Regions from separate parts of the Homo sapiens genome. Here all the other regions are linked to region 5. The links are contacts of gene promoters, found by promoter capture Hi-C in blood cells and fetal thymus (Javierre and others, 2016). All regions are on one chromosome and are shown on one strand. The core of a region is centred on a gene start or on the middle of the fragment in contact, and the rest is flanking DNA. Distances in the headings are between cores, read along the strand shown.

Evidence for each region. Contacts are between HindIII fragments. The CHiCAGO score rates a contact against its expected background, and 5 or more counts as called.
Region 1: a fragment that was not itself captured here is called in contact with the fragment with the promoter of FAM227B in region 5 in 1 of 17 cell types (M1 macrophages); the score reaches 5.3 in M1 macrophages.
Region 2: a contact is called between a fragment that was not itself captured here and the fragment with the promoter of FAM227B in region 5, in 1 of 17 cell types (megakaryocytes). The highest score is 5.2, in megakaryocytes.
Region 3: a fragment that was not itself captured here is called in contact with the fragment with the promoter of FAM227B in region 5 in 2 of 17 cell types (erythroblasts and megakaryocytes); the score reaches 6.1 in erythroblasts.
Region 4: a fragment that was not itself captured here is called in contact with the fragment with the promoter of FAM227B in region 5 in 1 of 17 cell types (megakaryocytes); the score reaches 5.1 in megakaryocytes.
Region 6: a fragment that was not itself captured here is called in contact with the fragment with the promoter of FAM227B in region 5 in 2 of 17 cell types (M1 macrophages and megakaryocytes); the score reaches 6.3 in M1 macrophages.
Region 7: a contact is called between a fragment that was not itself captured here and the fragment with the promoter of FAM227B in region 5, in 1 of 17 cell types (M2 macrophages). The highest score is 5.2, in M2 macrophages.

Annotation. Positions count from the first base shown.
Region 1 is chr15:50,044,055-50,047,555 of GRCh38, reverse strand. It overlaps ATP8B4 (ATPase phospholipid transporting 8B4 (putative)), which reads left to right. Exons shown (of 28, transcript NM_024837.4): 4 at 92-205; 5 at 2,864-2,962. Among named protein-coding and RNA genes, the nearest start is that of ATP8B4, 73 kb to the left of the region's middle. The HindIII fragment of the contact is 239 bases long and covers 1,612-1,850 here.
Region 2 is chr15:49,323,473-49,326,987 of GRCh38, reverse strand. All of the region lies in intron 9 of GALK2 (galactokinase 2), which reads right to left. FAM227B (family with sequence similarity 227 member B) reads left to right here. Exons shown (of 16, transcript NM_152647.3): 16 at 1-18. Among named protein-coding and RNA genes, the nearest start is that of FGF7, 98 kb to the left of the region's middle. The HindIII fragment of the contact is 5,212 bases long and covers 1-3,515 here.
Region 3 is chr15:50,000,698-50,004,378 of GRCh38, reverse strand. ATP8B4 (ATPase phospholipid transporting 8B4 (putative)) reads left to right here. Exons shown (of 28, transcript NM_024837.4): 8 at 2,156-2,226. Among named protein-coding and RNA genes, the nearest start is that of ATP8B4, 120 kb to the left of the region's middle. RefSeq lists enhancers at 293-587, 584-773. The HindIII fragment of the contact is 2,418 bases long and covers 1,141-3,558 here.
Region 4 is chr15:49,360,653-49,364,104 of GRCh38, reverse strand. All of the region lies in intron 13 of FAM227B (family with sequence similarity 227 member B), which reads left to right. It also overlaps a transcript of GALK2 not described here. Among named protein-coding and RNA genes, the nearest start is that of FGF7, 61 kb to the left of the region's middle. The HindIII fragment of the contact is 9,554 bases long and covers 1-3,452 here.
Region 5 is chr15:49,618,444-49,622,105 of GRCh38, reverse strand. It overlaps FAM227B (family with sequence similarity 227 member B), which reads left to right and starts at 1,288. Exons shown (of 16, transcript NM_152647.3): 1 at 1,288-1,406. It overlaps DTWD1 (DTW motif tRNA-uridine aminocarboxypropyltransferase 1), which reads right to left and starts at 1,058. Exons shown (of 5, transcript NM_001144955.2): 1 at 984-1,058. RefSeq lists an enhancer at 827-946. The HindIII fragment of the contact is 6,893 bases long and covers 104-3,662 here.
Region 6 is chr15:49,229,721-49,233,234 of GRCh38, reverse strand. The region is part of intron 3 of GALK2 (galactokinase 2); the gene reads right to left. Among named protein-coding and RNA genes, the nearest start is that of GALK2, 61 kb to the right of the region's middle. RefSeq lists enhancers at 317-987, 988-1,659. The HindIII fragment of the contact is 9,875 bases long and covers 1-3,514 here.
Region 7 is chr15:49,876,499-49,880,100 of GRCh38, reverse strand. It overlaps ATP8B4 (ATPase phospholipid transporting 8B4 (putative)), which reads left to right. Exons shown (of 28, transcript NM_024837.4): 24 at 642-725; 25 at 3,578-3,602. LOC102724587 (a long non-coding RNA gene) reads right to left here and starts at 2,802. Exons shown (of 3, transcript NR_187946.1): 1 at 2,673-2,802. The HindIII fragment of the contact is 4,518 bases long and covers 1-3,602 here.

The sequences.
Region 1 (3,501 bases), core at 482-2,981, 430 kb before region 5:
TTACTCTGGCTCAGGCTTGTAGGTTTTAGAGCTATTTCTGATCATGAGCAATGCCTTGCCCCAAACTAACATGATGCTATTTCTTTTCCAGGATAATCGTATCCACACATCGAAATATAATATTCTCACCTTCTTGCCAATTAATTTATTTGAACAGTTCCAAAGAGTGGCAAATGCCTATTTTCTTTGCCTTCTGATTTTACAGGTAATATTTAGGTTGTATTTCTCTATTATCTGTTTGTTTAAAGTATTCATAAAATTGTAAAAAGTAAGTCAATTTACTTAGCTAAATGTTCGTGATTAGGTACAATCATCCTTTATCAGATTTTTAATCTTGTTGTTGCTGTTTCTTTTCACAAACGTGGGAGAGGTAGGAATGGTTAAAAAGTAGTACATTCATCATTTTAAACACTGAGGTCACTTTAAAACACAGCCTTGCACTTTATTTGAACCAAACCAGAGCCTAATAATTACTGTTCACAGCCTCCCTCCTTTCTTTATCTCCCTTTCACATCTACAGTGTGGGGATTGCCAGAGTTGAGGCAGAATCTTAGGTGACTAAGACTGAGTAGGTTGCAGAGCTTAATTCTGCACATTTCATTTTCATTTAAGAACAGTGACATATTTTTAATATATATAAAGTGATGATGCTATATGTTATTTCACTGTAGGTGACTACTTTTACAGTTTTGAATGGTTAATTGGTATTTAGTAACCTTTGCTTTTTCTCCTAACTAAAATTTGCCTTTAAATGAAATTTCAGCTTTTATGGATATTTTGGGAAGGAAAAACATATGAATCAAGGAAGCTACATATATACTGTACACATACATACTATACACACACATAAATAGTTCATGTTAGCCAGTTATTTACCTAGTATTTATGTTAGCATACTTTAAGCAGATCAAACTGGTAGGTCAAGAATGGCTAAGAAGTAAGAAGATGGATTAGATTAATAGATTTGAGTACTGTTTTCTCTTTAATTGAATATCTATTTAAGAATATGTTTCAAGTGACAGAAATCTTAATTAGTTTGAGCAAAAGATAAATTATTCATGGGTATCTCATTTCAGGTATTACTGGATTCATGGGCACAATTTCATCAGGATGTGGCTTCTCTTTCTCTGTTTTTGTTTTGTTTTGTTTTTGTTTTTGTTTTCACACATTGGCCTTTCTTAGGTAGGCCCTCTACTTGGTGGCCCTGACAGCTTCCTGGTTTCAACTCAAGTCAGAGAGAGAGAGAGTGGGGCAGAGAGGGGGAGGGGGAGAGAGAGAAAGAGAGAAAGAGAGAGAGAGAAAACGAATGAAGGAATTACTTTTTCTGTTGCTCCAGCAAAAGTCTTGAGATTAGTTCTGATTGGAGCTGTATCTTCATTCCTAAACCTGTCACTGTGGCTCAAGAGTTTGATCCAGTAATTGGCTTAACCAAGATCATATGCCAAACCCTGGATCCATGGTGGAATCAGTTTCCTAAAGTTATGTGGACAGAAAGTGAGGGGATATGATGGTTCCCTAAGAAATAGGAGTATATTTGAGAAGAACTGGGTGCTGATCAGGAAAACAAAAACAAACAATGAATAAACATCTTACTATTTGTTGAAGAAAGCTTAGAGTCCAAATTTCTTCCCCCCACCTCTCCCCATGAAGTTGCTTTTGGTTTCTTCAAGTAACACTTCACACCATTCCAGAATTTTGAATTCATTTCTCTAATGGCTTTCTCATTTGTGGCCAAAGGCTCTTGTTCATAGAATTTTATATTTAGAAGGGAACTTTGGGATGGTTCAGTCTAACCTCTCCTTTCTTTATTGCTGAAGAAATTAGACCCAGAGAGATTAGGTGGTAAAGCTTTCACCATGAGTTGATGATGAACTAGGACTAGAATTTAGCTTTTCTGACACCAAGCTCAACATTTTTACTGCTACATCAGAGGCTTTTGAGTTTTTTTTAAAAAATCTTACATGGAAGCTGCTATGTAAAATTGATTTAGAGTTGTTTTGATGGGGCCTGATCTTTAGCCACTGACCGTCTCTACCCCATCCTTTCCTGCCTGATGGCCCCGAAGCAGCAGATTTTCAAATGAATCCCATTTGAAAACCACCTAAGAGATTTATGTCCACTGTCACTATGTCTCTCTTATGTGGGTGGCTTTGGAGGTATGGGCACAAGGGAATAGGGCTTGGAGTCCAAGAGACCTAGTTTCAAATTTTAACAGTATGTGATCTTGGCCCAGTTGCATGACCTGTTAGATTCTTCATTTATAAAATTGGGACATGATACCCAGGTCTGCAACATTTCCTGACTCCTGGTCACCCGTCATAATGTAGTATTCTGTGTTGTGTACTGGGGGTACTATTTATGTGGAATACAAACCTTCTGGGATTATACAAAAACAATCCTAGTAGGAATCTAACTCAATGAACTTTTCCGAGGATTAAATGATGTAATAAATGGAAAGTACCTGGCACAGTGTCTGGTGCAAGGCAGATGTTCAAACAATCTCTCTTTGGGAATTGGTAAAAAGAGGAGTTGGTAAAATTGTTAAAAGTTGAGATGAAAAGCAGAAAAAGATGGGTGAAATTTAACATATTGGAGAAAGTGATCATCTGTGAGAGATTTCAAGAAGCTTCTCCCCTTGCTATAAAAATTTCAGTTTTTGGTTAGGTAGTTTGAAAACAAGTTCAATAATAATTCTACTCTATGTGTCTTATAACCAAATACAAACACTTAAATTATTGAAAGTCATTCTCCATTTGTACAAATAAGTCAATATAACCCCATTAATTTGAAATTAAATGACACAGTTTGGAAGATATATTTTCTAACTTTAAAAGCCCTAAACTATTTGGAATGTTTGTTTCAGCTAATTCCAGAAATTTCCTCCTTGACCTGGTTTACCACCATTGTGCCTTTGGTCCTGGTGATAACTATGACAGCTGTCAAAGATGCCACAGATGACTATGTGAGTATTTGCTCTTGAGCATTCTTGAGGTCTCAATTTCAGTTGTGGCTTCTCAGAAATAGATAATGAAGATACATTTGAAATTTTGAATGAAGTTATTTTGGTTAATATCATATAAAGCTATTTTACTATTTGTTTGATGATTAATACAGGTGCTGTAAAACCAGAGCCTGTTTAAAAGCAAGAAGGCTTCAGTAACTAGATTCACTTTCTCCTTTTATAGATGAGAAAACTAAAGCCCAGAAAGAGCTAGTGATTTGCTAATAATACAACCAATTTGTGGAAGAGCAGAATTGGAAATCAACCTGCATTCACTCAGTGAAGTGTTACTTATTCTTTATCACATGTCTTTGTTTAAGGTTTGAGAGCTGGTAAATATTAGGTATTCTTATACATTCTTGTCATTATATTAGGAGTTACAAAGTCAAATATAGTTGATCCTTGAATGATGTGGGGGTTAGGGACACCAACTCCCTGTACAGTCAAAAATTCATGTATAAGTTTTGACTCTCTCAAAACTTTACTAATAGCCTATTGTT
Region 2 (3,515 bases), core at 716-3,215, 300 kb after region 5:
TAAAGGCTCTATGATTAATTTAGCACAATTTTGTCTCTTTTTTTCAATCTAAATGAGATATTTTACTTCCTGGACATATCAATAGAATACTACCTCTACTCTAGAACATCAGAATTACTGCATGTCAGTAATTGATTTTCCTGTCAGTGATTCTTCTCAGTTGATTTCTTTTTATCATCTGCTTTATTATATATATTAAAATACGCTTTTCAAATGAACATAGGTATTTAAGAAAGAAAAAAAATGCTTACAAACAAATAAACATCACTGATCTCCTCCTATCCCTTTAACATTCAATTTATGGCCCAGTGACTAAGCCTGAAATCCCATCATCCAGGCTAAAAAATTTCTCTGACCTTGGGATCCTTGGATTATTCTAAATTTCTAGGTTGGCAAAGGGCCTGTTTGCAGTTTGTTGGATTTAAAAAATGGTTGTCATGCCGGGTGCAGTGGCTCACGCCTGTAATCCCAGCACTTTGGGAGGCCAAGGCAGGCAGATCATGAAGTCAGGAGTTTGAGACCAGCCTGACCAACATGGTGAAACCCCGTCTCTACTAAAAATACAAAAATTAGCCGGGTGCACACCTGTAATCCCAGCTACTCAGGAGGCTGAAGCAGAGAACTGCTTGAACCCAGGAGGTGGAGGTTGCAGTGAGCCGAGATTGCACCGCTGCACTCCAGCCTGCGTGACACAGTGAGACTCCATCTCAAAAAAAAAAAAAAAAAAAAAAATGGTTGTCATATGCAGTCGTATCAAACTCTTACTGTGGAAGATGCTGGGGAAAACTGAGGTGTCACTGAAGTGTCTCTGGAAGACCCTAAAATATGGGCATTAAAGCCAGCCATGACATGGTCTAGAGAAGAATACTGTGCCTTCTTACTTGATTTTCTAAGATCTAAAATATGCCGTTTTGCTGGACTCAAGTTATCAAGTCTTTAAGGGTCCTCAATCCAACTTCTAAAAGGCATATTTTATTATACTTTCTCATTTGAACAGTTTTTGAAAGCTGTGGTTTTTCAAAATTGAACCTAAAGCAAACAGAGTATTATTTTTAATCTGGCTGTAAAACCTATAGGAACTGGGCCAGAGGTCTATTTTCCTGAGACTTTTACTAGTTTCCAGGGAGCAGAAGCTGGAAGTCTTTGTAGGTAAAGATATTTGCTACTGAGTCTCCAGAGCTGCTCTGTCACCACCCTGCCTGCTACAGATGAAAATGGACTGAATTGCATCAATCACATGGTCTGAAATCAGGGCTCAAATTTCCCAAATAAAGAATGATAAGTGCTATTAGAAATAGCCTTCTGCCCCCAAGTCAGTGGCACATCTGATCACAAGTCAGGGCTGCCCCAGCAGCTGGTCAGCAGCCTGCGCAGCTGTATACACTTATAAAGGCAGAAAGGTCTGTCTGCAGTGTTCCCTGCTGGTACTTAATAGGCCCTTTGGCATATGCCATAGAAATTCTGAGAAGACCGAAAGTTAGGAGACCGATATACCCTTTAAATTAAGAAAGAAAAGTAAGTGAACCAAGGGTGTTTAGTGAACTTTTCATGTTTGCGCCTTTTTCTGGAAGAACAATAAAACATTAAAAATATATCTCCTGAGCTATTGCACATCAGAGAGGCAATACAAGAATTACAAAAACCAAAACCCTAAAATCCCTCGGATCCCACTTTGATGATTGTGATGACTAGATTGGGAATAATGTAGAAGGGTTTGTTAAAGCAACAAAGGCAGCCTCTACTTTATAAAGCACGATGGCAAAGGCTAGGGCAGATGAGGGATGGAGATTATGAGGAATGTTACTCTTTGATCCTTGTGTATTCACAGAATTAACTATCCAGGCACCCAATATAGCCAAAGTCAAATTTCCTACTTTTAAGTGAACTAATTCGACCATAAAGCACTTACTAAGTTGCAAGATACAGAGCAATGGAGAGGGTGGGGAGGAGATCCAGGAGACCCAACTGCACTACACACTTGAAAAAGAGGGAAGGTAAGAAATTATGCCTTGTATTTAAATTCTGTGTCATTTCTTTCTAAATAAGTAAATATATATTATACAAATGGATATGAAATAAATTATTTCAGGAAATCTAGAATTTAGGAACAGGTCACATCCATCTCTCTGACCCCAGCCCAGCACAATTCTAGAAATTCTAGGTTCTAATAAATGGCTGCTGGACTACGATATTTCCCTTAAAATATTTTAAAAATTATATATAATATAAGCAGTCAGCAGTGTATTTTTTTACTTGAGAAGACTTCTAGCTTCTGCTCTCTGGGAAATGGCAAGAGTCACAGGTAAGGGAACTTCTAGCAGTTTCTATGATTTTTACAGCCAGGTTAGACACCGTGCCTTCAAATTGCTTTACAGTCAAGAAACCACAGCCTTCAGTGTTCAAATGAGAAAGGATAAGAAAATATGCCCACATGTCTACTTTAGAAATGTAAGCCACTTAAAGGCCATTGAAGAGCAGTGGGTTTGGGTCCTGCAAATGGCATGTATATTCATAAGTCAAAGAGGCCCAAAGAGAAGTGAACCCCTAAGGGGAGGTGAAATGGCTCCCTCCCTCTTTTTTTTTTTTTGACAGGGTATGCATGTTAGCACTTAAGGTCATGGGGAAAGAGCATGCAACAATGGATTTGCACTTCATTCTTCCCCATTATGACCTTGTTGAAGAATGGATGCGAGAGGCTGAGCAGCCTCACCATGGAATACATTGCAGAAAGACTTCTGAGGAAGACAAAGTAAATTAACTTTTGTAATCATAGTTGATCCACTAAAATTTGTCATTCATCTCCCTTAATAGCTTGGGCGATAATGCAGCAATTAATCCTCTCTAACTTCAACAAGTGTCAAAACAAAAACAAAAGGCATTAACCATTTTGTCTTAAGTAAAACGAGGGAACCAATAGTGAATGAGCTGTCTCACATATAACTGACTTGGTTTCAAAATTGTTTTGTGTTCTCCAGTAAATTCTACTTAAAATTTAGTCATTTCTTTCTGTTTACATTTTGTTTGGCTACAAAAGATACTTTATAATTCAGCAAACATTATCTTTTTCCTTCATTATTTACTTTGTTTCATATAATTTAAGTTCTAACATTAATTTAATTTTTTAAAAAAGCCTCACTCTGTAAGTATAGTTTCCTTCATCCTCCCTGCTCCTTTCTTTAGATTCTAAACTGATTTTCTCTTGAAGAGCAGGAAAAGGTTCAACTGAAAAAGACAGCTAGCAGTGGTGCTCTTTCCCAACCCCCCTTCTCTCCACTTGGGTCACAAAGTTGTTCTATACATTGTCCTATATGCTAAGTAGGAGATGCCTTTTTAATTCAGTCTAGCTCAGATCACTGTAAGATTTTCTGCTTGTGTATAGCAACTTAGGTATTCTAGGTATTCAAGCCGTTAATTTACTCACTCAATTAGTTGTCTTTTCATACAAATAGTTTCCAAGAAGCCCTTCAGAAACACTAAAGGAATTTTGAAGTGCCATAAGTGGACCAGGGAGGGTG
Region 3 (3,681 bases), core at 1,100-3,599, 380 kb before region 5:
ACAAGGGATGAGCAGGGCTTTTTCTGCAGCTCTCCTGCCCTTTCCTTTTCAGAATTATGACTGAGGGCACTAGAAAATAGGCCTGCCTGCATGACAATGAGCGCATTGACCGCTTATCCTCCCGGCCCCGCTGGGCCTTCCCTTCGCACTCCCTCCTCAACCACAATGAATTAACGCCTTGAAGGACGAGGTTAACAAAAGGGAACAGCAGGCCTCAGCAGAGGGACAGGGAGAAGGGAGGATGGATGAAGGGAGTGCAGCAAGGCCATCAAGGAGTAGGAAAGCAGGAGGAAGGTTCAGAGAACATCAAAGAAAAAGCTGGTAACTGGGGAGATGGGCGGAGGTGGGGAAGGTAGGCGTCTTGGTCCTGGAGAGTACAGTGAGCAAGAACAGTTAGCCCGGAACCTATGGGGGTCAGCCTGTGGGAAGCTGGGTCACTGCTCAGGAGAGAATCTGACCGCCAGATGGCAGTGGCGCCTCAGTCACATGTTCCTAGCCAGCTGTGTGCAGGGACTCCACCCCTTGTTTACCATGGTGTGAGTGTCAGTGCAGCCCCACCCAGTCTTCAACAGTAACACTGGATTCGAGTTTCAAAGAAAAGCAGCCCTGGGTACAAATAGGCATCTTTCTCTATATTCAATCACAGATTCTTAGGATTAGAGAATTTTGGATTTTGTTTAACATGAGCCTTTTAAGCCCAGGGGAGGAGAGGTGCAGGCCCATAGACTGACTGTTAAGCTCTATTGCTGTTTAGTGCCTTGTGCCTGGTTTTATGCATTGAAATTTGAATGTGGGAAATAAGATCAAGGTGAATTTTCAAAAAAAATTTTTTTTTCCTTTAAAATCAGGATGGGTAGTTTTTGGCCCAAGAGCGGCATCACTTTCTTTATGTGGCTTTCCTCTGTTCACAGTGTGACAAGTCAGAGAATTTCTGCCTCAACAAGCTTCTGTGGCTCTTTGATTCAGAGTTGTGTAAGAGCCTTGCTAATGCAAACCCACTTATTCTTTTAGGGGCCGTCACAGGGTATTTTTCCCCAGCTCTGTTTTATCCCAGTTTAGACAAAACCACACACACACACACACACACACACACACACACACACATGCACACCCTATTTTTGAGTTGCAAATTTAAAAGCTTGAGACAATCAAGAAAGTAAGTTGATTCTAAATTTAACCCCCAAGATTCAAGAACAAAGCAATTCTAATGTTTTTAAAAATAAAGGTAAGAAAATATCACAGATTTGGAATGCCAATCATACATTCAGACATAGCTAGAAAATTGTTAGGCTAATGTCTCAAACTAAATTGCTAAAATTTAAGCCAATTCTTTTTAGACATTCAGACCCTTCAAAATTTTATAAAAACACTTATTTTTAAAATAAGTTTAGAGCTTTGAAATAAAATCAATAAGCACTTTGCCAATTTAGAGAGCTACCAGGATGCTAAAACTGAATTGTGATAGGTGATATGCAAAGCTCAATTGGACATCAGAATAGAACTGTTTATCTCTGAAAAATCCAAACTACTCAGTATCTGATTTTTTCCCACTGCCTTTGACTACATTTTCTCTTCTGTCTTGCTGTTTTCCTTAGTCCCTACTTTATCTTAGCTCTCCTCTTTCTTACTCCCTACCATCTTTTACTTTTTTCTTTCCATCTTTATCTCTTTCTTAACTTCCTTGCCCCTCTTATTTTTATTTTATTTTTTCAGTTTCCTCCATCTATTTCCCTTCTGTCTTTTCCCCATCTCCTTTGCCTGCTCCCTGCTTTTAACTGATGACACTAGGTAATTAAAGTTTGTGCATATATTTCCAATTATTTATTGGAGAGAGTTTTATGTTAGTAATTATCAAAGCAAGAAAATAGAATTTATATGTTTCATTAAAAAAAGGTGAATCAAGTGGCTATTAATTCATATGATAGCTCCTTTCCTTGCTTATGTTGTGATAGTCAAGGGGCATATAAAGGAGGAACAGGGAAGAGGGAGGGTTTGGTTCAGGGCATATGACATAGAGGTAGAACAGGATCTCACTTCTTTTACTCTGTTTCTGAGGCTCTGTTGCCTCTTTAGTAGTCAAGAGGTGATATACTGTAGAAGACTTTCAACCAATCTAACTTCTCAAGTATTCTTTTGTTATGATTTTTGAAAATAGGCTGATTTACTTCTCCTATCAAGTAGTGAGCCACATGGTCTCTGTTATGTTGAAACTGCTGAGCTTGATGGGTAAGTTATTAAAATTAGAATAATTTGGTTGGTTTTTAATTTATTTAAAAGTAATGTCTTTAGAGATAAGACTTAACCTTGTTCAGTATCTTCTTGGGAGACATAGGAGTTTACATTGCAAAGTCCATAGTTAATTACTCTACAGTAATTTTGAAACTGTTTTTTCTCTTAAATTTATTTTCTTGCAGAAACAGTGAGCGAAACTTATATACAGGAATAACTTTACACAGAGAATCTTCAGTAAGATTCCTTAGATTTTTTAAAAAAAGTTTTTGCTTGTTTTGATTTCAAGTGATTTTATAGGGAAAATGAGAGGGGTAGAGATCAAGATTCCTTGAGGAGGGAAGGAAGGACTGATGTTACTTTAAAAGGCAACCTTTTGGAACTGTGTCAAATGAAGACATAGAAAAAGAAGAGAGAAACAGAATATGATGCAGTTTTGATGTTGATATTAATTTAGAATTTAGTTATAGACCATATAGCAGTTCTGTTTCAGAGGATTTAGTTTGTCTGGCATAAAAACATTTATTGAATGCTTACATTTTAATGACACTATGTATTTGTGTTCTTTAGATGGAATTTATCATTTAATCCTGATGTAGGTGCTATGTAATTATGCCCTATTGTACAGACAATGAAATCAAGGCTTAGAGAGCCTAGGTAATTTGTCCAAAGCATCTGAAGAGTGAAGCCAGGACTCGAACCTGGCAGTCTGACACCAGAGTCCATGGTTTTAACTGGTGCCTTCCAAATTATTGTCATATTGAGCTATTCAAATAGTACTTTAGTCTGTGGGACCCTACTTTGGACAGAACAGTTCAGACACAACTAAAACAGTTCTGAGAGGAACATTTATGGCATACATTTGAAAAGAGAAAAATTCTCAAATAAATAATCTCATCATTCATCTAAAAACCCTAGAAAACAGCAAAATAAACCCCAAAGAAGCATAAGAAAGGAGATAATAAGATAAGAGCAGAAATAAATAGACTTGAAAACAAAAAAAATAAAGAAAATCAACGACACAGAGCTAGTTCTTTGGAAACATCAATACAAGTGACAAACCTCTAAGAATACTGATAAAAGAAAAAAAAAGAGAAGACACAAATTAGCATATTATGCATGAACCATGGAAATTTGGTATAGATCCTGAAGACATTATAAAGGTAAAAAAGAAATACTACAAACAACTGTGCACACATAAATTTGACAATTTAGAAGAAATGGACCACTTTCTCAAAAAAAAGACTATACACTTAATATGAAATAGATAATTTGAATAGCTCTATAAGTATTACAGAAATTGATTTCAAATGTAAAGTATAAAAAGCTTTGAGGAAAAAAATAGGAGGAAATCTTTGAAATCTAGGGCTGTCTGGTCAGATTCTTAGACTTGACACAGTAAACATAATCCATAAAAGGAAAACTTTGATAAACTGGACTTCAAGAAATTAA
Region 4 (3,452 bases), core at 202-2,701, 260 kb after region 5:
AAAACCTGGCATAGACACAATAAAAAAAGAAAACATCTGGCCAATATTCTTGATGAACATAGATGCAAAAATTCTCAACAAAATACTAGCGAACGGAATCCAGCAGCATGTCAAAAAGCAAATCCACCATGACAAAGTAGGCTTTACCTCTTGGACACAAGGTTCATGCAACATGTGCAAATCAATAAATGTGATTCATCACATTAAACAGAACTAAAAACAGACCCATAAGATTATCTCAATACATGCAGAATAGGCTTTTGATACAATTCAACATCCCTTCATGATAAAAAACCCTCAACAAACTAGACATTGAAGGAACATACTTCAAAATAATAAGAGCCATCTATGACAAACCCACAGCAAACATCATCAAAAGCTGGAAGTATTCACCTTGGAAACCAGAACAAGACAAGGATACCCACTCTCAACACTCCTATTCAACATAGTATTGGAAGTCCTGGCCAGAGCAATCAGACAAGAGAAAGAAGTAAAAGGCATTCAAATAAGAACAGAGGAAGTTAAACTATCCTTGTTTATAGACAATATGATCCTATATGTAGCAAAACCAATCGTCTCTGCCCAAAAGCTCCTTAAGCTGATAAACAACTTCAGCAAAGTTTCAGGATACAAAATCAATGTACAAAAATCAATAGCATTCCCATATACCAACAACATCCAAGCTGAGAATCAAATCAAGTCTGCAATCCCAATGCCAATAGCCACAAAAAGAATAAAATACCTAGGAATACAGCTAACCATGTAAGCAAAAGATCTCTACAACAAGAATTACAAAACATTGCTCAAAGAAATCAGAGATGACACAAACAAGTGGAAGAACATTCAATGATTGTGGATATAAAGAATCAATACCATTTAAATGGCCATACTGCCCAAAGCAATTTACAGATTCAATGCTATTCCTATCAAACTACCAATGACATTCTTCACATAATTAGGAAAAACTATATTAAAATTTATGTTGAACCAAAAAAGAGCTTGAACAGCCAAGACAATCTTAAGCAAAAAGGACAAAGCTGGAGGAATCATGTTACCCAAATTCAGATTCCACTACAAGGCTACAGTAACCAAAACAGCATGGCACTGATATGAAAGCAGACACAAAGACGTATGGAACAGAAGAGACAGCTCAGAAATAATGCTGCACACCTACTACCATCTAACCTTTGACAAAGTTGACAAAACAAGTAATAGGGAAAGGACTCCCTATTCAATAAATGGTGCTGGGAAACTGGCTAGCTATATGCAGAAGATTGAAACTGGACCCCTTCCATACACGACATACAAAAATCAACTTAAGATGGATGAAAGACTTAAGTGTAAGACCTAAACCTATTAAAAAAACTCTGGAAGATAACCTAGGACATACCATTCTGAACGTAGGAAATGGCAAAGATTTCATGATAAAGATGCCAAAAGCAATTGCAAGAAAAACAAAAATTGACAGATGAAACCTAATTAAACTAAAGACCTTCTGCGCAGCAAAAGACCTATCAACAGAGTAAACAGACAGCCTACAGAATGGGTAGAAATATTTGCAAACTATGCATGTGACAAAGATCCAATGTCCAGAATCTATAAGTGTATTAGTCGGTTTTCATGCTGCTATAAAGAACTACCTGAACCTGGATAATTTATGAAGAAAAGAGATTTAACTGACTCACAGTTCTGCAGGTTTAACAGGAAGCATGACTGGGGAGCCTCAGGAAACTTACAATCACAGCAGAATGTGAAGGGGAAGCAAGAACCTTCTTCACGTGGTGGTAGGAGAGTGAAGGGGGAAGTGCCATACACTTTTAAGCCAGCGTATCTCATGAGAACTTTCACTATCATGAAAACAGCAGGAGGGAAATCCACTCCCATGATCCAATCACCTCCCACCAGGACCCTCCCCCAACACATGGGGATTACAATTCAACATGAGATTTGGGTGGGGACACAGAGCCAAACTATGTTAATAAGGAACTTAAATCAACAAGCACACAGCAAACAAACCCATTAAGAAGTGGGCAAAAGACATGAATGAACACATTTCAAAAGAAGACATACACGTAACCCACAAGCATATGAAAAAATGCTCAACATCACTAATCATAAGAGAAATGCAAATCAAAGCCACGATGAGATACCATCTCAGACCAGTTAGAATGGCTACTATGGAAAAGTCAAAAAATAACAGATTCTGGAGAGGTTGCAGAGAAAAGGAATGCTTATACACTGCTGGTGGGAATGTAAATTAGTTCAACCGTTGTGGAAAGCAGTTTGGCAATTTCTCAAAGAACTGAAAGCAGAATTACCATTCAACTCAGCAATACTATTACTGAGTATATACCCAAAGGAATATAAATCTTTCTACCAGAAAGATACATTCACGCGTATGCTCATTGCAACACTATTCACAATAGTAAAGATAAGGAATTCAACCTAGATGCCCATCAACAGGACTAGGTAAAGAAAACGTGGTACATATACACCAGGGAATACTGTGCAGCCATAAAAACTAACAAGATCATGTCCTTTGCAGCAATATGAATGGAGCTGGAGGCCATTAACCTAAGTGAACTAATGCAGGGACAGAAAACTAAAACCACATGTTCTCACTAATAAGTAGGAGCTAAACATTGAGTACATGTGGACACAAAGAAGGGAATAACAGACACCAGGACCTACTTGAGGGAGGAGGGAAGGAGGAGGGTGAGGATCAAAAAACTGCCTACTGGGTATTATGCTTATTACCTGAGTGGTGAAATAATCAGTACAACAAATCCCTGTAACATCAATTTACCTATGTAACAAACCTCCACATGTACCCCTGAACCTAAAATAAAAGTTAAAAAAAAATTTGCATCATAGGTAATATTTTTTAAGTTTTTTAAATTAATTTTTTAATTGACAAATTATAATTGTATATATTTATGGGGTAAAAAGTGATGTTATGATATATGTATACATTGTGGAATGACTGAATCAAGCTAACATATTCATCACCTTAAATACTTATCATTTATCCCTCCTAACTGAAACTTTGTCCTCTTTAACCAAAACCTCCCTATTCCGCAACCCCACAGGTAATATTTCTATTGATAAGGAGTGATTTGCCTAAATCACAAGAGGGAGGATGACATTATTGTCTATGTGTAAGGATTCACATGTAAACACTGAGTAGACTGGAGGTATGTATGGAGAGGACTGGAGGGAGTCAATGAAATTTCACATCACAGGAGTGCTTATGTCTTCTGACATGATTTTAAATGTATATTTATTTATAAGGATGATAAACTTGTTTACTAGTTAATGTACACTAATTCATTAGCAGAACATTTAAATATAATTTTTGGATGATCTTTGGAGTTTTATTAAAAACTTGGTCACTTGATATTTGAATTATGAGTAAAACAGGAGAAAAACTTTGATGTCTAGGATTTAGAGCT
Region 5 (3,662 bases), core at 39-2,538:
TCACTACTGAAGTATCTGACAAACTACCTTTATGGGCCGTCTGCAGCCTAGCACAAGTGGCAGGCTGGCAATTTTTTTTTCTCCAAAATAATAACAAAAAGCTTCTACCTCTTCCATTATTGTAAGCTGACTCACCTCCCAATGGAACACTATACAGACTCCCCTGTCCTATATTGTGGACCAATTCAGTATTAGAAAAAAACCACTTCCAATTTTCTTTAGAGTGTTTTTAAGAACTTGGTCACATAGGACCTACAGGTCCAACATTCATTTTTCATAATCCAAGGTAGTAGTACCCTTTTTCATATAGGATCAATGGCCTCTCCCACACCACCCGCCATATGGTAACAAACTGTCTTGCCTTCGTTTTCATGGTGCACTGGGTTAGTCCTTACATGCTGCGATCTACAGTATTGATTTTACCATCCAACTTTGTGGGCCTGGCGACTGAAAATGTTAATATACTTCCTTATTTGTCCTACATTCCCAATAAATAATTTAGACGTAAGAAACAGGCTCTTTTGCTTATTATGTAACCACAACCTCAATATTTTAAATACACTGCATGGCATCACTAATTCTACGTCTGTACTACGCTTCCCCTTCCGTGATAACCAAACCCCCACAAACCACTCCAAATACTAAAAATAAAATAAAATAAAGTATGGGGTTCCTAGGGAACTGACTTTGCCAGGACATACTTTTCGTTGGGGCGGAATGCACCGAAAATCATTGGTAGGAAAAATAATTTTTTTTTTGAGGAAAAATTTGGAAACCTTTTTCCCAAAGGGCCCGCAAGATCCTAAAAAAAGCAAGAGACCGCGCAGAAACCGAGGATCCCCCTCACAGGCGACACCCAGCGCGACCTCCGCTAGGGTCCTGACAAAGAATGTCCACTTCCCGCGGCCGCACCTCTGGGGCCAGACCACTGGTCTCCAGAGAGGCGCGGGGACCTCCACCAGGGATCGGAGTGGTACTCAGACCTGCACACCCGCGAGTCCTCGAACAGCTCCACACGTCTCCAGCTCCGCCCGAGCCCGAGCCACGCGCCGGGCCGTGATCGCGCACGGACCAGACGGAGCGCTTTCCGGGAGACACCAGAGGGAGGAGCCAGGCAGTTACTAGCGTCGTTGCTAAGGCAGGGGCCGCGCACACCGCACACCGCGCGGCTTAAGCAACAGGCTGGGACGACAGCGGGGGGGGGGTTAGACGGGAAGTTCCGCCTCAGCCTCTCAATCAGCGGCGGTGTCGCACTTCTCCCGAGAGGCTCCGGCGAGGGGCAGGGCCGCGTTCGTCCGGGACCCGCCTCAAGCCTCGCAGCCTTTCACCCAGTTTCCTCCCGATTCTTGCTGGGACAACAAAATTGGGAAGCGGTTCTCGAAACATACTGTCAAGGCGTAGTTGCAGTGAGTTGTGAAGAAATGTTGATCCCAGAGAAAAGTTTGCATTTTGCCCACCTCAAAGATATTTTGATTGTGAGAACTTGGTTACATTAGTCTTTCGTGGCTATATCAATATCATTATTTCGTGTGCTGTGTGGTAATGAAAGCTATTAGAAAAATCATTTGTATCTTAATGATTTAGTTTGCATAAAAACACGCATATAGAGTTAAGAGTACTTTGTGTTTTTCCACTTTGAAGTATAATATGTGGATAAGTTATTAGAACATTTGTCCGTGCCTCTCCCCAAACAATGCGCAAACGGAAGTGCACTCTAACAACTAAGATTTTAAAACACAATGGTCAAATGTTGAGCAATGTTTTATTGACTACTCTGAATTTATCAAGTGGTAGATAAAGGACATTACAATGCCCTAGAAGTGCTCACGATATCAAGTAAAGCATGTTAAATTCAAGTACAGAAAATGCAATATTCTTACTACTGAGATAAAAAATGGAATTTAATAAATTACAGGAATTTCAAGAAAGCTGAGAATGGAGTGGTCAATAAAGGCTTCTTTTTCGGACTTGGGTAAGGCCTTGAAGAATGATTTAGGTTTAGGACAGTGTTTTTCAACTGGAAAGGGGATTGTGTGGGACCCATTAGTGGAGGTCTTGACCCATTTGTAAGCAAGGAAATCTCTTTAAACTTAAAAAAAAGAAACAATATAGATTGGAAATATCAGCGCATGTAAGTAAATTTAGTGTTAGTTAGTAAAGTACTGCTTTATGGAGCTTTTAATTGTATATATGCGTGTATGTGTGCACTAGGGCTTGTTTGTAAAATGTATTTCTTACTGTATTTCAAACCTTAAAAAGTTTGAAAGCCAGTGATTTAGGGAGAAAGGTGAATTTTCTGGGTAGGGAAAGTAGAATAGCAAAGTCTATAAGCCAAGAAGAATTCACAACCATTTTCCTTTTTAGTTTAACTCTAAATTTTATCAAAGTAGTTAAATTGCACAGATTAAAAAGCAAATAATACTACTTGTTAGATTGAGCATTGGGTTGCTATCGTATGTAATAAATTACTCCAAAATATGGTGGCTTAAAACAACCATTTTATTATGTTCACAGGTGGTGTTGTCAATAGGGCATAGTCATCAGCTTTTCTTTGGTAACTCAATTAGAAAGACTAGAGTGGGCATGCTAGCAGAGCTTCTGTAACTATATGGCCGGGGTTTCCTCACAGTATGGCAGCAAGGTAGTCAGACTTCTTAGCTTAAACTCAGAGCTCCAAAGGGAGTGTTGCAATGAACAAGGCAAAAATTGCCTGACCTTTTCTGACCTTGCCTCAAAAAGTAACGCGGTGCTACTTCCCCCACTTTCTTTTGCTTACAAATGTGTCAAAGTCCTGTTCCATTTTAGGAAAGGAGACATAGATCCCTCTTCTCAAAGGATTGGCAAAGATTTCTTGTCCATGTTTTAAAACCAGCATAGTGAATTTACTTCTGTAACAGAAAACCCCAAAATATCGGTGGTTTAATACACTTTTTTTTTTCCTCACAAAAGATCCATTGTGGCTATTTCTAGGCAGACGAAATGTTAAATTCAAGGCCAGATGTTTTTATTTTTAATGGTTCTGCTGCCTTCTAGGACTAGCTTGTTTGACAAGAAAGAAAGTATGGCAAATTACCCAAGGTTAACTCTAAAAATGACATGTATCAATTTGGCCACATTCTGTTGGCCAGAATTTAGTCCCAAGGCCCCCACTTTAACTGCCGGGGATCCTGAGAAATGTAGAGAAACACACACATATTGGTGAGCACTAACAGTTTGCCACATTCTAGGTTAAAGAAAACCCTGTAGTACCCAACCCTTCTACTCTATTCTCAATTCTTCTCACCAAAGGAAAATTCAAGTCTTTTAAATATTTCATCTGTTACCCCCATGTCTAAATATACTTACATTGCAGTTTCTTGATTTTCCAATTTCAGACATTACCCACTGACTTTCTCCTGTGGAAGGCAGTGATAAAGGTCTTTTGTAACAACACCACCTCCAAGTGTGTGAACATTCCCTCTCTACCTCATACACTCTTCTTGTCCCTTCACCTGTCAATAGTGATATCATAGGCTTTGGCTAAATCAACATTTAGTGTTATCACTACTGTCTAGGTAAATGTCATTCAACCCCAAGGCACATAGTATACTAAGATCGCATTAACTTTTAATACAACTTTTTACTTTCCTTTCTCTTAACTGCCATTTTTAATGTATTATTTA
Region 6 (3,514 bases), core at 508-3,007, 390 kb after region 5:
ATGTAGACATGCCTGCTTCCCCTTTGCCTTCCACCATGCTTGTAAGTTTCCTGAGGCCTCCCTAGCCATGCTTCCTGTACACCTGTAGAATTGTGAGTCAATTAAACCTCTTTTCCTTATAAATCACTCAGTCTCAGGTATTTCTTTATAGCAGTGCAAGAATGAACTAATATGGAAAATTGGTAACAAGGACAGGGGCATTGGTATAAAGATACCTGAAAATGTGAATTTGCATTTGGAACTGGGTAACAGGTAGAGGTTGGACCAATTTGGAGGGCTGAGAAAAAGACAGGAAGATGAGGAAAATTTGTAACTTCCTAGAGACTTGTTGAACGGTTGCTTTGAAAATCCTGATAGTGATATGGACAATGAAATCCCAGCTAAGAAGGTCTCAGATGAAAATGAGGAACTTCTTGGGAACTAGTGTAAAGGTCATTTTTGTTATGCATTAACAAAGAGCCTGGAGGCATCTAGGGGTATGTGGAACTTTGAACTTGAGAGTGATGGTTTAGGTTACTGACAGGAGAAATTTCTAAGCAGCAAAGCAGTCAAGATATAGCCTGCTGCTTCTAACAACCTATGTTCATATGCGTGAGCAAAGAAATGACCTGAAACTGAAACTTATATTTAAAAGGGAAGCAAAGTGTACGAGTTTGAAAAATTTGAAGGCTGGCCATGTGGTAGAAAAGAAAAGGCCTTTTTGGAGGAGGAGTTCAAGCCAGCTACAGAAATTTGCATAAGTAAAGAATAGTCAAATGCTGATGGCCAAGACAAAGGGGAAAAGACTTTCAAAGCATTTCAGAAACCTTTGCAGCAGTTCCTTCCATCACAGGCATGTAGGTCTAAGAAGGAAGAATGGTTTCATGAACAGGGACCAGGGTCCCACTTCCCTGCACAGGCTCAAGACACTGCTCCCCATATCCTGACCCCTCTGCCTCCAGGGGTGGCTGAAAGGACTTCAGATACAGCTCAGGCTGCTGCTTCAGAATGTGCAAGCCATAAAACTTGGTGTTTCTATGAGGTGTTTAGCCTGCCAATGTTCAGAGTGCAAGAGTTAAGGCTTCGGGAGCCTCTGCCTAGATTTCAGAGTATGTGTAGAAAAGCCTAAATGTCTAGGCAGAACCCTGCTGCAGGAGCAGAGCCGTCATGGAGAATCTCTACTAGGGCAGTACTGAAGGGAAATCTGGGGTTGAATCCCTCACACAGAGCCCCACTGGGGCACTACCTAGTGGAGCTGTGAGAAGAGGGCCATTGTCTTCGAGACTGCAGAATGGTAGATCAACCAGGAGCTTGTACCATGCACATGTAAAAGCCGCAGGTGCATGAACACTAGCCCATGAAAGCAGCCTCAGGGGCTTTACTTTGCAAAGCCTCAGAGGTGCAGCTTCCCAACCTTAGGAGCCCACCCCTTGCCCCAGTGTGCCCTGGAAGTGAGATGTGGAATCAAAGGAGATTATTTGGAGCTTTAAGATTTAATGACTCCCTTGCTGGGTTTCAAACTTACATGGGGCCTGTAGCCCCTTTCTTTTGGCTAATTTCTCCCTTTTGGAAAAGAAGTATTTACCCAGTGCCTGTACCCTCACTGTATGTTGGAAGTAATAACTAACCCATTTTTTATTTTACAGGCTTATAGGCAGAAGGGACTTGCCTTGTCTCAGATGAGATTTTGGACTGTGGACTTGTAAGTTAATGCTGGAATGAGTTAAGACTCTGAGGACTGTTGAGAAGGATGACTGAATTTTGGAATGTGAGTACCTGAGACTTGGGAGGGGCCAGGGACAGAATAATATGGTTTGGATTTGTGTCTCTGCCCAAATCTCATGTCAAATTATAATCCCCAGTTTTGGAAGTGGGGTCTGGTGGAAAGTGATTGGATCACAGAGGTGGATTTCCCCCTTTGGTACTCTTCTCGTGATACAGTTCTCACTTGACTTGGTTGTGTAAAAAGTGTGTAGCTGCCCCCAGCCCTCTGCCTCCTGCTCCACTCATGTAAGACATGCCTGCTTCTCCTTTGCTTTCCACCATGTTTGTAATTTGCCTGAGGCCTCCGCAGCCATGCTTCCTGTATATCCTGTAGAGAATCATGAGCCATTTATACCTCTTTTATTTATAAATTACCCAGTCTCAGGTATTTCTTTATAGCAGTGTAAGAATGGACTAATACAAACTGAAAAGTGCCAGCTCCCACAGAATTAGAAGTATGGCTCAAGTCTGTCAGAAAAAAACAAAAAAAAACTGCTTTTTGATTAGTTATTGATCTTTGCTCTTTCCCACATCCCTATCTCACCTCTCTACCTAGCCTTTTCCTGAGGTTCAAAACCACTCATTTTCCCACCAATTCTCAACCCTGCATTACATTATCCATTTGCTTTCTCTACCCCCACTTCCATGTTTGTAGAATTCTGAGAAAAGAATCCTGAAAATGAGCAGACATGACCCATTATTACATTAATACTTTCCACTTACATATTTTATTCATTTACTTGTTCTTCAAAGAAACATCTGCCCAGTGTCTACCCTGTGTGTGTCTGGACCTGGGGTAGGTAGACCATTATAAGACACCTGTGTGTGTCTGGATCTGGGGTAGACCATTTATAATAAGAGTAGCATCAAAAAAAATATGAAGTCGGAGGCACAGAAGAATGCCTGTAGGCATCTGGTACTTGCCTCCTCCATAAAGAAGAACCAAAATAACAAGTTGACAATCATAGTTAGAATAGATCATGTAAGAGAGAACACTGAATTCAACAAGAAGTGACAAGGAACACCTAAGGCAAGGAAGGAGAGGAAATCAGGGCAGCCTGCTCAGCCAGAATCAGCTGGGAGCCTGGAGAGGCTCTTCAGCGTGGGTAAAGGGCAAGAGAAACACCCCAAGTGGTCCACATTACTATCAAGGACTCCTGCAATCCTAGCCATAGGAGAGCGCCTCAACCCTTTAGGACCATGCGACTGACAGAGGAACTACTTGGAAATCACATGATGGCATTGCTCCAAAGAGGAAATTCATGCTGGGTTCCACACACCCCCAAGTCTTAAGCAACTTGCACATCACTATCCTGAGATCCCAGACTCTACTAGACCGCATCCTGCCATGGGGATCAACAGCTCCTGTCTCCACATCCTTGCAACCTCTCTGATGTCCCCTACCCACAGACACCACGAGTGCTAACTGCTGTTGTCAGAGCCAAAATGTAAGCCACTGGCAATAACTACAATACTCCCAGCAGTGGGACTGCTGTGTATTTTCACGAGCCCTAAATACAGACTCCCTCACTCACAGCAACTTCCATTGCACTGCTGAGGCCAAACCATGAGCCACTGGCAGAACCCTGGTATTCACAGCAGCAGAGCCACCATGGATTTTCAAGTGCCCCGAGGAAACGCTACCCCACCTGCAGCCACTACCTGGAGCCAAAGTGCATGCTCCCCAGCCAATTGTCTACGACTGCTGCCAGTAAAAGCAACCCCACTCTCCCCCGCAGCTGGGCCACATCACAGCCACTGCCACCACCAC
Region 7 (3,602 bases), core at 471-2,970, 260 kb before region 5:
CACAACTGTGTGTACTCATAGGCAAAATGGGGATATATGCCTGCTTCACATGCCTCATTGACTTTTAGTGAGGCCCATGCAGGGAATTCTTGTGTAATTAGTCTACAAAGGTGTGAGGGGATATTTTTGTTGTTTTGCTATTTATGCCCATCTTGCTTTAAACCACTCCCCCGCAAAAACCTCTCCATTTTAACACAGGATAGAAATAACAGGCTTATTACTATATTTATCTCTGAAGATTTTAGTGAATCCTTTGTTTACCACTTGGATCAGATAATTGGACTCATTATAAGCCACTGAAAACCTGGAGAATAAAATGGCAACCCACCACAAGGTCAGGGGCTCATACGTGTCCCGCACTATGTTAGGGGTACTGCTGCATGTATTATTTTGTCCTCACTGCCACACTGCAGGAAGGGTATACATCACTTTAGAGATAAAGAAACTGCCGTTTAGAGAGATCTAGTATCCCATTAAGGCACCAGAGCTGATAAGAGGCAGGTCTAGGAAAGAATTCATATTTGTCTGATTCCAAAAGTCAACTCCCACCCACCTCAGAAAACCTGGTTATTTAACCTAAATGTGAATATTCTCACTACTATGGATGATGTTTCTCACTTATATGTTATATTTCTTTTCAGACTGTTTATGACCAGTGGTTCATCACCCTTTTTAACATTGTTTACACATCACTGCCTGTTTTAGCCATGGGGATTTTTGACCAGGTATGTTTTTTTTCCATCTTTATAACTTAGTTTCTCTTTTATGCCTTTTAGTTTTTTGTGGGTTCTAAGTAGAAAACACAATTCTAAGTAGCAGCCCTAGGAATGCAGTTGTTTTAGTTGCTTTTGCATGGATCACACATGCTTCCAGGTCCACTGTGCCTCCCTTACCCCTATACCCTAGCTTCCCCAAAAGCATTATTTGATAAAAGTTGGTTACTCTTCTCTTAGAGGTTCACACCCCATAGATTGCTCTAAAGGCTCTAGAAGTCCTGTACGAAGTAATCTCTTTAACTTCATTTTAACCCAGCATTTCCCAAACTTCTATGACTGTATATGTTTTCATATAGCACCTATTAATTAATATGTCTCAGAACTAGTGTCTGTGGTTCACACACGGGGAAATGCTGCCTTAGCCTCTGAGAGCTTATAAAGAACCATGCAATGATAGAAAATCATGGGGCTAGGTTGGAACACAGGGGGCTAACACCTGCAGTGAGACTCCCTTGTTGCGAACATCTGCAGTGAGACTTCCTTGTTACACACAGCCCAGAACAGGAGCCACAGACCAGTAGAGCAGTCTGCCAGTGGGAGAGGAGGATGAGAAGCTCCATGGCCAAGGAAAGAAAGAGCATGGATTTCTTTTGTCCCAGCATCAATGTGCTTGAGTGGGGAGAAAGGAGAGGATCAATCACAAAAATGGTAGATCCTTGGCATACTCAGAGCCTTGGAAGGGACTTCCTGGAAAGGGGAAAAAGTCTGGCTGCCTGTGGGGAAGTGAAAGACTAGCCAGTGGAATTTCCGTGGCACAATTAGAGTGTCTTATTTTTAAAAAGACTTTTTGTTTTTTAAAAAAGTATTTTTAAGGAGACCACATTTTCTCCAGGCTGTTGTTAGACCTATTTGCTAGGCCTCATTTTCTGGGCCAAAGCCGTCTATTGCAAAATATAAATCTTCACATTATGAGCTCACTCCAGTCTCCCATTTGGCTGGCTTTGTAGTCAGTTGTTAAGTCTCCCTTCTCATATGTAAAAAGGGCAGTTTGCGAAAGGCATATTTTCTGGAATTATACAAAAAAGTAATGAACTTCTGAAGACCTTAGATGTAAAGGATTAAGCACATTCATTTCTCAGCGCCCATGTTTACAAGTGTTTCTTTTCTTGGAGCTTTGTAGCTGCCCAGAATGTGGAATAAAATAATAAAAATAAAGCAGTTTCTGGGAAAAGATGGTTATTGTGCAATTCAAAAAAAATATAATAAGGCTTCCTATTACCATCAAGTTGAGTGTCTGCTCCTCTCTCCTTTCCTGCTTTGTCAACCTTGGCCCTTAAACTGATCACAGGATCGTGGAATGCTATGCTGGACAGGCCTCAGCAATCATCAACAGATCTGCTCATTTTTTAAGGCAGAAACCAAGCCTTGGAGAGTCATTTCCCTAAAGCCACACAGCCAATAAGTGACACGGCTAAGACTAGAACCAGGCCTCTTAACTTTGAGGTTGCTACATTATTGCTATTGTTGTTATTATCATTATTTTATTAATTGTTATTTATAGAAGCATCTGGCATATTTATTACTTACGATGTGGCAAGAACTCTACTAAATACTTTACATACTGGTTTAATCATGGCGATAGTTCCATGTGGGAGGTGTTATTGTTTGCATTTCTGGGCATGAGGAAACCAAGGCTCAGGCGGATTAAGTAACAGGTTTAAGATAACACACCAGCTAAACCCGTTACCAGGGATTGAGCTCATGACTGTCTTGTTTCAAAGCCTGCGCACATAACCCTCAGTCACTGAACTAGGGGAACAAGCATCCAAAAGCATCTAAAAACAGGACTTTCTAAAGAGAATATGCCTGTGTTTTTCCATGGGACTCTGTTTGGAGAGACCTGGGCCATCCCACAAGCAGGAAGGGGAATGTTCCTCTCCCACAATAGTTCACCACCTGTGTTGCTTCCACTTTCGCCTCTTCTCCTCCACCTGTGGTCCTCTGATGTCCCCTGTGGTTGATTCTTGCCATCCTTTTTGGTTTTTGGCATTTGGCTTTGGTGCTCACTGTGGTTATCAGCATTACTTTGGAGCTGGCTGGAAATGCAGTCTTGGGCCCTCAGCCCTATTGAATCACAATCTGTTTCCCAGGCGATTTGTGTGCACATTAGGTTTGATAAGCATTTAGTTTCTCTTGGGACCTGGTTGGTGTCAAATGTGCCACCTTCTCATTCTGTCTATATTCTTTCTTTGTCCTGAACACCTGGTAACTGCTGTTAAAATTCTCACTGGGTAGGATCCTCATCCCAGCCTCCTTCTCACCTGGAATCCCAAATGCAGTTTCCCCTTTTCCCTGCTCTCTTCTTCCTGCTCACTTCCCTCCAAAGTCATGAGCTCTGATTTGACAATTCTGACTCCACAGCTCTCTGCTGTCATCTCCTGGTCACTACCACTCACTACCTTGACAATTAACTTCTGGGGCCCATTGGCTGCACATGATGTGCTGGAATTCTGGGAGCACGAATGCTTCTGACAGCCTGCAGGAGAGTGTAGGAAAGAAACTTCAATTTGAAGCCAAATAGCTAGGCTCAAACCAAGCCCTGGTTCTGCTACTTACGAGCTGTGTGACCTCTCATGAATCTCTCTTGGAGACTCAAGCTCCTTCTCTGTAAAGTAGAGATCATTTTATTATCTTCTGGTTTATTGTGGGAATACAAACAAGATAATGTCCTGTTCTGGCCCAGTGAGTAGTGCATTTTAGGACATGTTTAAACAGGCATTTGCTATTTCTGAAGATAGGGAATACAAGGCCTCTCTGACTCTTTTTAATCCTTCTCCACTGAAATTACACTCTGTTTACAGGATGTGAGTGACCAGAACAGCGTGG